Regions from separate parts of the Homo sapiens genome. Here region 1 is linked to region 2. Evidence: promoter capture Hi-C in human tissues and cell types (Jung and others, 2019). All regions are on one chromosome and are shown on one strand. Each heading gives the region's core, a stretch centred on a gene start or on the middle of the fragment in contact. The rest is flanking DNA. Distances are from core to core; before and after follow the strand shown. Region 1 overlaps ABLIM3 (actin binding LIM protein family member 3). Region 2 holds the start of AFAP1L1 (actin filament associated protein 1 like 1).

Region 1 (6,454 bases), core at 3,217-5,716, 51 kb after region 2:
AGCATAAGAATGACACAATGGACTTTTGGGGCTCAGGGGGAAAGGCTGGGAAAGGGGTAGGGGATAAAAGACTACAAATTGGGTGCATTGTATACCACTCAGGTGATGGGTGCACTAAAATCTCACAAAACGTCACTGAAGAACTTCCAAACACCATCCTGTTCCCCAATTACCTATGGAAATAAAAATTTTTTTAAAAAATCTTCATCCACATAAAAAATGTGGTAGATCCAAAAATGGAATATTGTTCAGCCATAAAAGGAATGACCTGCTGATACCTGCTATTATACGGATGAACCTAGAAAGCATTATTCTCAGGGTGAGAAGCCAGTCACAAAAGAACATATATTGTATGGTTCCATCTGTAAGAGCTATACAAAATTGGCAAATCCATAGAGACAGAAAACAGATTGGTGACTGCCAGGGGTTCGGGGACAGAGGAATGGGAAATGACTGCTTAATGGCATGTATGAGGTTTCCTTTTGAAGTGATGAAAATGATTTGGAACTAGATAGAGGTGGGGGTTGTACAACATTGTGAATGCACTAAAAGCTACCGAATTGTGCGCTTTAAAATGGTTAATTTTGTGTTATGAGAATTTTACATTAACATAAAAAATTTCCCACTCCTCTCCTCCCAGCAGGTGAATTGCTTCTGTAGACCAAGGCACTCTGTTCCTCCTTTGCTACTGAAAGTGCCAAACTCGGCCAGAGAGAGGAGTGAACACTGCTGTTGAATCTGCCCTGTAATAACAACAGTGTGATCATTATAATCTTGGGTGTTAGTAAATCTTTACTGGTATCAGGCACTCTGTGCATCATTTCATGTAATATTCTTAAGGGGTTCCAATCCTGGCTACATCATTTACTAGCTGCATTGTCTAGAGCAAGTCAGTTGCCTCTCTGTGCCTTGGTTTCCCTATTTATAAAACAGGGATGACAACAGTATCTGCCTCATAGGTTTGGTTTGAGGATTAATGAGTTAATCCATGCCCAGCACTTAGAACGGTGTCCGCCTATGTCAGGGACTATATAAGTGTTGGGTATTGTTGTTCTTATTGTCTCCTCTCCTCCACCTACAAAAATAATCTGTGTGCCAGGATCTAGTTTGGGTAAGGGGAGAGCAGTAAAAGGGAGACTTGAGGGGAGCAGGGAGCTGGGGCCTGGGTGAGCGAGGGGGCTGCAGCACATGGCAGGCTGGCTATGCAGGTGGAGTCACTGAACAGAAGCCTGGCTTGGTTGCCAGCGCACCCTCCTGGGAGGTTGGGCTTGTGCCCAGGGACAAGGGCACCTCGGGAGAAGTGGGAAAGACCTACTTGCCTGGAGCTGACATGATGAAGTGGGCCTGAAGCTTAATAAAGAGGTTGGAGGGAGAAAAGTGTTTAGTTACCATGAGGCTGGTTACCATGGAGGATATCGGGCAGGATGAGAAGGGGAAAATGGCAATTCTGAGGTGCCTTGTAATTCACGAGAAATAATAGGTGCTGATAATAACAGTTGGGACAGTAATTAAAGTATATTGAGTGCTTAGTATGTGCCAGGCCCTAAGTATTCTTATTATTCCTATTGTTACTATTATAACTAATATTTATAGAGTGTCGATACCAGGCCTTGTGTCACACACTTTATAACAATAGTGCTTAAATATAAAAAATAATAACTGCCATTTATTGAGTATATATGCTGCACCTTATGCTAAGTATTCTTAAAAATGCTGATAATATTGACAACAGCAAGCACTTACTACTGCATTGCAACATGGGAATGGCCATTTCTATATAACTGGCTGATTATCATGAGCTCAGACTGGCAGAACCAGCAATGCTAGTCCCTGTGCTGAGTCTTTACCATGCATTCATTAGTTCATTTAATCTTCACAACAGCCTTGTGAGATGGAGCCTAGCCTCATCCCTCTTTACAGATGGGAAGTTGGGGGTTAGGGAGCTTGGATGTCTAACCTGCTTGTCCGTCTCTGTCTCCCCACCCTGGCCTGAGTGTGGGCAACAGGTCCTCAGACTCTCTGGAACTTCTCTGCTGAGCTTAGCGGGACATGCTGCCTCTCTGTACTGATGGTGGCAGGGGGCTGGCCAGGCCCTCTGTCCTACTGCATGGAGACAGCCAGTCTGGGCAGGAGAGCATGGGGCCAAACACAAAAAGAAACAGGGAGAAGAACCACCTGATGGTGCTCACGGGCCCCTCGACCCAGCTGTGCTGCTCCTAGACGCTTCTTAGTTCTGTGAGCTGATCAATCTTCTTTTGCCTAACATAGCTTGAGTTAGGTTTCTGTCACCTAAAATGTCTAGACTAATAAAATGTCTCATCGAGCTAAAACCTGAATATCTGACAAGTTCTTGACTTGCCCAGCAGGCAATTTTGTTTCTCAGAAAATAGAGGAAGTAAGCCGGGAAATTGCTACTCTAGACCTAATTCTGACCAACATGGACAAATTGACTGCTGAAGTCGATGTGACATGTGACAGGCGAGAAAATGGCCACATCGGCATGAGTCTGTGGTGACCTGAGAGGAGAAGCTGGAAACAAACTTTAGAAATACAAACCTTAAGCTACTACACTGTAATACTTTCTATATGATTCAAGATGCTTGGTAACCCTTAAAATCTAAATAAAAAAAAAAATGGCAGCTCGCCAAAAATTAAAATATACTCTATTTAAAATGAAATATGCTTAGTAGAGTCAGACTTCAGGAAGTATCAATTTAGTACAGTAACAGAATATGTCTGAAAAATCTAAAATTAGGTAGTAGGATTGGGGAAACATAAGATTTAAAGTTTTTAAGCATAACTCCTACAACCTAAGCTGTCAGTAGAGAGATCCAATTTAAAGTAATAATGCTAAACTACGAAATTATAGCAACCAATACTACAGTAGTGCCTTTTAGAGGGTGGTTTCATGAAATGCGTAGATGATGACTGAGGGCTGGCGTTCCACAACCCATAACAATGGGAGGCCCTCACTTGAACATCTCTCAGCTTAGTGCACCTTTTCTGAGTTACAACCCAGCCATGCCAGAAATACACAGCTCCTGAAACCAGGACCTTGTATCCTCTGAGCTAAAAAAAAAAAAAAAAAAAAAAAAGTAATCTGAAATAGATTCAGTTACACAAGAGAAGGGTTTGGGGTTTGGTGTAATTATCAAAACAAGCTTTTGAGACTCCGTTTCGGATTTGTGTTAACACAGAACCAAGTCTCTTCACTTTATTTTGGCCCATGGACACCTCTGAAAATCTGATGAAAGCTATGGACCCTCTGCCTAAAGAAACACACCTAGCATGCAAAATTTAGCAAGCAATTTCAGAAGACTCATAGAGTTCAAAAGGCTGACCATGAACCAGTTTAAGAATTCTGGTAATATAGATGTAAGAAAATTGCCTCCAAGAACCCTAGCAAGACAGGCCCACTTTGGCTAAGTGGCGTATGCTCTTGAAACTTTCATTCTCATCCTCTAAAATGAGGACATTAATAGTTTTTAGCTGACAGGGTTGTCGTGAGGATAAAATGGGATACTGTGTTTCAAACTCTTAGTACAGTACTTGGCACATAGTAAATGCTCAAAGTATACCAACAAATAATAATTATATTATTAATAATAATAATAAAATGATGGCATTTTATTATTATTAATATTTTTATTATTATCATTATTATTGGTGAGACCTATAATTTGTTATAATACTTTTCTTTAGCAGAGTGAGGTTTGTCCAGTATTTTATAAATGATTTCCTGCCTTGTGGGTTTTAGTTAAATATACAAATGATAACAGCGAATTGTTTTAAAATGTGCAGCTGAACTTACGTAATTCCAGGGTTATTGTCTCAGGTCTTAGAACAGGAGGGTATTTGGTGTAGACAGAAGGGTAGAAGAAGAGTCTATTTTCTCCCTTTTCCTGGGTACAGGCACATTTAGAACAAGAGCAAAATTTGTCTCATGAACCACATTTGGGATTTTAAAAAAACTCTCACTGATCTAGTAACTGCAACCTTTGGGATTTCAGTATAAGTTTTGCCCTGAACCTGCAGCATTTTGGCCATTATTTTGCTGCACAAAATGAGTGACCTAATTTCCTGGTGAAGCCCAAATGAAGGGTTTGGATAACAAACAGATTAGATATTTGGCATCTTTACAAACACAGTTAAAAGATTGAATACACAACAGAACTTAAAACAAATAAAACTTGCTCTTGTCTCCTGGGGCCCCAGAAGTTCTCCTCCAGACAGACGTCAGACTTCTCCCAATTAGAGCCCATCAGAAAGCCATCACATAGCAATTAAAACACAAACAAACTCACCCAAAGAATCTCCCAAGGACCATTTGCCAGTACCATGCTGTGTCCAGCTCCAGAACTGACAAGGCTGGGTTTGTAAGCTTTGCAGGCATCCCAACACTCTCTCTCTCTTATATAAGTTGCTTTATGGAGTCCCCAGTGCCTTCACATTCACTCTCTCCTCTAATGTTCATGAGGACCTTGTGGCATATGGTTGCTCTCTGTGTGCCAGGTAAGTGGGCCTGCCTCAGTTTCTCCACCTCGTTCTGCTTCCACCCACCCAGGGAGGGCCTTTGCACTCACTGTTCTCACTGCCTCCTCAATCTTCCTGCCCTTTTCAGCCTCCCACCTCCTACTCATTTTCAAGGTCTTGGCTTGAAATATCCCTTTTTAGGGGCACCTTCCCTGGCTTCCCAGACTAGAGCAGGGGCTTTATAACACATGCCCATTGTTCAAAACTTTCTCTGTGCAGCACTTGTCACAGCTTGTCATTGAATGTTTACACTTCTATTTGGCACTGTTGGTTTCTCTTTCCAGAGAGTGAACTCCACCAGGACAGCAAGCATGCTTGCCTCACTCATCTCTGAATGCCCAACATGTAGCAGAGAGCCTGGCACATAGCGTGGCCCCCAGTTTGAGTGGATCAATGAAAGACGATGATGTTATCCTCATTTTACAGGTGAAGCAAGAGATCCAGAGAAGGAAGCCACTTCTCAAGGTCACAGCCTATTAGTGGAATTGCTGACGCTTGAACCCGGGAGTCCTGGCTCTCAGCCACTTCTTTACACTCCTGAGCTACCCAGGAGCAGGGTTTTCTTGCCAATTCTGGGGGATATCATATTGAATCCTGGTGTCCCCACTTGGTGAGGGTGTCCAAGGCCCAGATCTCAGTGGTAGCAGAACCCCCACAAGACACTCACAGCCCAAGTGAGCGTGACTCTAGCACTGCTTGGCCTGGTCCCCCTCATTCCAGGATCACTTAGCATCCTTTCAGGCAGGTCCTTGAATGCCCTGCAATTACTCCCACTCTCCCAGGAGCCAGGAGAGGGATGGGGATAATTAATGAGAAGGTGACAGGCTCATCTTCATTACTAAGAATATCTCCCACCCTTGGAGGCATTTCCACTGTAGGTTTAATGGTGCATTCTCTCTCAGGATCACAAAGCTATGCACTTTACTTCCTTGCTTAACTCTTTTAGCACCTGTGGGAAGTTGGAAGAATGAAAGCACTAACCTGTGAGGCTGTGAGCTCCATGAGGGCAGGGCCTTTGACTGATTTGCTCACTGCCACACCTTCAGTTGTGAGAACAGCAGCGGGGACACAGTAGATCCTCAATAGATATTTGCTAAATGAATGATTGAAATGGGAGCTTCCCATGTGTCACGAAATTACTACACCTATATCTTATAGCAACTGTTCTCGGTCTATTTTACATATTAGACAGCCAAGTTTCAGAGAGTTACGAGACTTGCCCAAGGTCAAAAACTTAGTAATCAGTGGAGCCAGGATCCCCCCTGAGGCACTCTGGGTGAAAGCACCCAACAGGGAAAGATTAAGATTAGGAATTCAGGCAGGGAGGCAAAGACGTGGTTTATTCTAGTGATATCCAGGTAGGGATGAGAATGGGAGGGCAGTTTCAATACTAGGAGGTTTGTTCACCAGGGAAGGAGGAGAGGAATATTGTGCAACAAATTTTCAAGCCAAGTGCAAACTCCAGGTTCCCATGGTGGTCAGGATGAAGGCAGGGTGCAGGTTGCTGAGCCTCATAACACTGGTTCCTGCAGCAGGAATCACTCAAGAACCCAGGCAATGAGGGATTGGTGTGCACAGGAAGGGACAGGGACCTGAATATCAGGCAGGGCCTGGGTCCCAGGGGTAAAGTGGAAAGAACCCTGGAGGGGAGACGCAAGGCCAGGCCCTGCTCTGCCCTGACGCACTCCCATTCTCACACAAGTCTCTTCTTTTCTCTGGGTCTATTTTCCCCATCTCTACAATGAGGGTTGGCACTTTACAGTTTAGAGTGACTCTGGGATCCTTACCACTCCAGCATCAGTTCATATAAGTAAGTAGACAGCATCTTAGAAATGGTCACTTTGTTTAATCCAACATAGGAATTCCTGCTCCAGGATTCTTAGCAGATGGCACAAGTTTCTGTTGGGTAGCTCTGGGCCAG
Region 2 (6,358 bases), core at 3,367-5,866:
AGGCGGTGTCCATAGACATTGGCTTTACCTGATGGTTGATTCTCTTGTGTGGTATTTGTGAATCAGAAAACCCTCTGGAAGGATTGCCATTATGATATAAGTGGTTTCTATGTTTGTTACTGTGCTTTATGAATCCTTTTCTCTCCCCATGGGAAAACACATACCCTGTTGGAAGAGAAATTCTACTTTCGGCGTTTGTTTCCATTCTCAAGTCACTTGACTTTGATGCTGAGCTTTTTATGCTCAGCAAATTCACAGCAATTGCTGTGAAATATCTGAATAGTGCAGCTTAAGTGCCATGGAGATGTCTGGGGCCTGAAACAGGAAGATTTGGCATCTAGGTTCTGCTCTAAGGCTTGGGCAGGTCACCTGCCACCAAGGAGGCAGTCAGCAGCAAGCTTAAGATCAGGACTTTGATATGGAGACAGCTGGGTTTGAACCACAGCTCTGTGTCTCATATGGAGAATGAATGAGCAAATTAATGTCAGTGACCTAAGCTTGTTGTTATGGACTGAATTTTGTCCCTCCCAAATGCATATGTTGAAGCCCTAACCCCAAGTGTGACTGTATTTGGAGACAGGGTCTTTATGGAGGTAATTAAGGTTAAATGAGGTTGCAAGGGTGGAGCTCTAATCCAATAGGACTGGTGTCCTTAGAAGAAGAAGAGACGGCCGGGCATGGTGGCTCACGCCTGTAATCCCAGCACTTTGGGAGGCTGAGGCGGGTGGATCACGAGGTCAGGAGATGGAGACCATCCTGGCTAACGTGGTGAAACCTCATCTCTACTAAAAATACAAAAAAATTAGCTGGGCATGGTGGTGCACGCCTGTAGTCCCAGCTACTCGGGAGGCTGAGGCAGGAGAATGGCATGAACCAAGGAGGCGGAGCTTGCAGTGAGCCGAGATCCCACCACTGCACTCCAGCCTGGGTGACAGAGTGAGACTCTGTCTCAAAAAAAATTAAAAAATGAAGAAAGAGGAAAGAAGGAAGAAAGAAGAAGAAGAAGAGGAAGAGGAAGAAGAAGAAGAAGAAACACCAGAGATCTTTCTCTGGATGCACAGAGAAGAGGCCACGAAGGGACATGGCAAAAAGTGTCCCTACAAGCCAGGAAGAGAGGTCCCACCCGACACTAACCCTGACTGCACCTTGATCTTAGACTTCCAGCATCTGGAACTGTGAGAAAATTAATTTCTGTTGTTGCAGCCACCCAGTCTGTGTATTCTGTTATTGCAGCCCTTGCTGGCTAATACCCTGGCTGAGCCTGCTTTCCCCTGAGGTATGATTCATGATAGTCCCAGCTCATAGGCCCCATCCTATGGGTTGTTCTGAGAGGAGCCACATAAGAAGCTGAGGACAGTGCCTGGCACATGGCAACAGTTTGATGATTTCAGTTATTATCGTGAATACCAATGTGTGGTTTTCTTCCCTAGTCAGCTGGGCATGACAGTCCCATCTCTCACATGGTAGGCAGGAGGCTGAAATGAGACCTGTGCTTCTTAAGCCTTCCCTGATGACAGAAGAGAGTGCACACCTGCCTGGGAACAGGGGTACAAGAAAGGTCTGCTGGAATACTTTTTTTTTTTTTTTTTTGAGACAGAATCTTGCTGTGTCGCCCAGGCTGGAGTGCAATGGCTCGATCTCGGCTCACTGCAACCTCCACCTCCCAGGTTCAAGCGATGCCTCCTCTCCTGTCGCAGCCTCTCGAGTAGCTGGGATTACAGGCGCCCGCCACCACACCCAGCTCATTTTTGTATTTTTAGTAGAGATGTGGTTTCACCATGTTGGGCAGGCTGGTCTCGAACTCCTGACCTCAAGTGATCCACCCACCTTGGCCTCCCAAAGTGTTGGGGTTATGGGCGTGAGCCACTGTGCCCAGCCTGGAATACTTGAAGTCTCATGTTTTATCTTAAAAATGCATGCAGATTTTTCATTCTGATTCATAAACGGTTGTGTTTGCAATTATTTATCAGAGTAGAGAACTGAGGAGCCAGACAGTTAAACTGATCTTGTGTGCCCAGCCACAAGACCACTTTACTTGAGATGGCCTTTGTAAGTCACCAAGAACTGATCTGAGTATACTTAGTACTATTCTCAAACTGATTACTTGTACAGCAATGTTGATTTTTAAAAAGAGAATACTACTAAGTATTGCTGTACAAGTAATCAATTCGAGGTGCACTATAAAGTGTGTTGTATTTTACTAATTAAACCACTGTTGGAGCTCCTCACTGTGCACTATGTGCCAGGTGCAGTGTCAGCAGATTGATCACAATAGATCCACTCCTTGCCTTCCTGAAGCTTACTTCTGGGTAGGGAGGCCGACACTAAAGAGTCAGATAACTATGTCTATAAAGTTGTGACAAGAGGTGTAAAGAAAGATAGCAGGCTAGAAAAGCCTGCAGGGAGAGAGCAGGTCAGAGCCCTCCTAGGCTCTCAGCACCAAGGGATTCCTGGGAAGTCTGACTTCCTAGGAAGAGTGCTCTGGAGGCAGCCTTCTGACGTGGAGGTTGTTGGTTACCAAGCATTTAAAGTGAAGTGAACTATTGTCACTCTGTCTTAGGATGACACAGTGCACTTTCCACAGGCCTGGGTAGGCCTAGGTATGGATTTTTGTACTGGAGATCAGACAGGTTGGTATTTAAAAACTGGTGGGGAGTGGGGGTGGTGGAGAGGTTGGGGAGGTGGCGGGCGACTAGGAGTGTGAAGGGGAGGGGGGATGGTGGTATTTGCTTTAGACGCATTATGCAGGAGGTGGGAACAGCAGGACTGAGGGGTGTGAGAGGTGCCTCTTCTCTCTGTTTTTCCTCCCTGATGTACACTCTTCACACTTGCCTAGAAATCAGTTAACAGGTGAGAACTGCTTTACAAATCTAGGCCTCAGTTGCTAAAGAACCAAACAGAAGCCCACTCTCTTTCCTGCCTGCCCTTCCCAGTCCCTGAAGGAGAAGGTGAATGCAGTATTCTCTGTTGGGGAGGGGCAAGTGAGGAGGTTGAACTGGAAGCCAGGAGTCCCCTCTGGCCCTCTGAGCTCGCCAAGCCTGACTTTCCGTTTAACAGGAGTAAGGGAGGTTACCCCACACCTGCTCCCGGCTCATCCCTGCCCCAGTGCCTGCTAATTGCTCCCATGCCCCTGTTCCCTTCTTTTTTTCCTCCCTTCGGGGGCTCAGCACAGCAAACAGGCAGATGGGGGAGAGGTGTGAGATTATCGTGGGGAGGGGAATGAATTTTCCATTATTAATAACAGCAACAACAACAACACTTCGCCTGTTGGCACAGCACTCACTAGTTTATCTAGTGCCGTCACACCTGTGATCTCTTTGGATCCCAGAGGTGCAGACTGAAACCCTGGGGTTCTGATTCCCAGCCTCTGACACTGTTCACATGTCCAAGCAGGCCACTTCTTTACAGACACACACATGCCCATCTGGCCATTGCCAAAGGCCATGTCTAGACCTTTACTTAAAATGTGCGCTGCCGGGCGCGGTGGCTCACGCCCGTAATCCCAGCACTTTGAGAGGCCGGGGCCGGCTGATCACCTGAGGTCAGGAGCTCCAGACCAGCCTGGCCAATATGGTGAAACCCCGTCTCTGTTAAAAATACAAAAATTAGCCGGGTGTGGTGGCGCATGCCTCTAATCCCAGCTATTCGGGAGGCTGAGGTAGGAGAATCGCTTGAACCCGGGAGGCGGAGGTTGCAGTGAGCCAAGATCGCGCCACTTCACTCCAGCCTGGGCAACAAGAGCGAAACTCCGTCTCAAACAAAACAAAACAAACAGAAAAAAATGTGCGCTAGCCCCCTACGAATGCTGCCCTCTCGGCTTATGTCAATCTCAATTTCAGTAAGTCCCCTCCACTTCTGTGAAACGTCTACCAAATACACTGGAAAAGGGTCGGCAAGGTGCCTTGGAGACCATCTAGTCCAACTTTGTCGCTGGTCCAGAGAGAAGGGCTGGGCCGAGGACACAGCTGGTGCGGGATAGAACCACCCCCGCCTCCTCCCTCCCTGGCGCACACATGCATGCACACGCGCGCCTGCTCACGGCGCTCCTCCTTCTCGCAATGCCCTAGGCAGCTGCAAACTTCGGTCCCCTAGAGCTTCTCCCTAGGGGCTGCCCACAGCGGGTGTTTCGGGAGTTGAACCTGTACACCTTGTTTTCCCCTTTAGAGTGGAATGAGGTGGGAGGAGCTCGCTGTCCTCCGGAAACTAGAGGGGGATCTTTTATGAAGTTACAAATCGTTAGCCTATGAAAACTCTGATTTCACACACGAGAGGCGAGTTGGCCCCAGGACACGGGCGTTGACACGCACCGGGTTGTCCCGGCAGCCGAAGGCACCTTTGCATAAGCGCCGCGTCTCCCAGTCCCCTCCGAGCGTTCCTCAGCCCCCGCCCCACCGCCCGCCTCTCTCCCTCCTCCTCTCCGGCTTCAGATCGTCCAGTCTCCCTTTCCCGCCCGGCGCCGCAACAAGTGCGGGCGTCGCGGCCCCTCTTACCCTGGCCTCGGTCCATGGCGCCGGCCCGGTCCCCGGGGAGCGGGCCGCAGGGCGCAGGGGCTCCGGCGCGGCTGGTAGCGGCCGGCGCGCTGCGCTCTCAGGCCAGCCCAGCGGCCGGCGCTCTCTGCGGTCCCCTCCCCCAGACAGGATGCTCGCCGGCAGCCCCCGCCCCGCCCGCGCCCGCGCCCGCCCCTCAGAGCCGCTCCCGGAATAGACCCGAGCACGCCTCGCCCCCTGGGCCGCAGCCCGCTGTCCCGTGGTGCCGCACACGCCCCGCCGCGCCCTGCCGCTCGCTCGCCCTCCGCGGCGCTCCCACTTGGGCTTGGAGGACCCTTTTCCCCGTCCGCACGCGTTCGTTCCCGCGCCCGCGCGGCCTGCCCCAGCCCGGACCCAGGAGGTGTGCGGCTTTGCTTGCACTCCGCTAGCGATGGGGTCTTACCACCGCACCCCTCAGCCGGCTCCATGCCGGAATGCGGAGACTGTTGGAGCGCGTTTTTATCCTAGGGAATCAAAACCCCCTTCCCTGCAGCCGCCACCCATTTCCTGGCTTTGGGCTTGTCTTCTCCATTCGCCGCGGGTCTTTCTTGAGCACCTTCTAAGCCAGACAGTGGGCCCGCGGCGATGCCGGTGCAATGTCAGTGGTGTTGCGAAAGAGGAGTTAAATAATAACAAAGATCTTCAGAAAGAAAAGCACCTGGGAAAGGGAGAAAGAGAGGCTTGCTGAAAGGTGGGCAAGGGCTTGGGACACTTTCAACTTTTGAGGTTCCTTGTGTACTAAAACGTGAAAACATAACGAGGATCTGGGAGAATTCAGAAAAAGAATAGAAAAATGAGTAACACGTGAAAACATGCAGAACAGGGTGATAAAAAATGTGGAAATGAATACTTTTAGCATACAAAATACAGTGCAATATAAGTGTACTTTTCGCAAGATTGTAGAAAATATTGCTATGACCAGTGTGGAACAGTAATGGGATCTAAGTTTAAAGCTGTATGAAGAATGTCAACTTCTTCACCTTATTAGTATATCCCTGTGAAAATAGGTCTCACTCATTTATACACAATATCAAATGTCTGACTTTAAGACCCTTCATAAAGTCCAGGACCAATTGTTCTCCTAGACACTGCTCCTCCCACCATGGGCCAGGCCATGGTTTTCAGCTTTGAGCTGACCACTGTTCCCTACTTAGAACATTCTGGAACAGGGAACAGCTACCACAGAGGTATGGAGGCAACAAAAGGCCTGGGAAAGACCCTCCTGTACTTTCCTGGACTGGGAATATTTTCTTTTCTTCTTTTTTTTTTTTCTTGAAAAGTCTCCCTTTGTCGCCGAGGCTGGAGTGCAGTGGCGCGATCTCGGCTCACTGCAACCTCTGCCTCCCGGGTTCAAGCAATTCTCCTGCCTCAGCCTCCTGAGTAGCTGGAATTACAGGCGCCCACCATCACTCCGGGCAAATTTTTGTATTTTTAGTAGAGACGACGTTTCGCCATGTTGGCCAGGCTGGTCTCGAACTCCTGACCTCAGGTGATCCACCTGCCTCGGCCTCCCAAAGTGCTGGGATTACAGGCGCCAGCCACCTAGCCTGGCCGGGAATATTTTCTCTATTGCTTTTATGGGCAAATTAAAATTAACATTTTCTTAAAATATTGCATCAGTAATTTAGTGTGTGTGTGTGTGAGCACTCAGACCAAATGTGATGTTGTGAACAGTGTATGAAAACTTGTGCATGGCTCTTGTTCTGTTAGTTTGGTGCAAAAGTAATAGTGGTTTTTGCCACTGAAAGTAATGGCAAAAAACGCTATTACTTTTGCTCCAATCTAAATACTACATAGTATAATAACTTTTCGTCAATGAGGTTTTCTTGCTC

Evidence for each region. The method cuts DNA at HindIII sites, captures the fragments that hold promoters and counts their contacts. A contact is called where the count stands out against the background at its distance.
Region 1: a contact is called between a fragment that was not itself captured here and the fragment with the promoter of AFAP1L1 in region 2, in 2 of the 25 tissues and cell types used here (H1 embryonic stem cells and IMR-90 fibroblasts).

The regions. Positions count from the first base shown.
Region 1 is chr5:149,219,303-149,225,756 of GRCh38, reverse strand. All of the region lies in intron 8 of ABLIM3 (actin binding LIM protein family member 3), which reads right to left. Among named protein-coding and RNA genes, the nearest start is that of AFAP1L1, 49 kb to the left of the region's middle. The HindIII fragment of the contact is 4,420 bases long and covers 2,257-6,454 here.
Region 2 is chr5:149,270,117-149,276,474 of GRCh38, reverse strand. AFAP1L1 (actin filament associated protein 1 like 1) reads right to left here and starts at 4,616. Exons shown (of 19, transcript NM_152406.4): 1 at 4,491-4,616. The coding sequence starts at 4,506. RefSeq lists enhancers at 3,016-3,555, 3,556-4,097, 4,098-4,637. The HindIII fragment of the contact is 7,342 bases long and covers 1,399-6,358 here.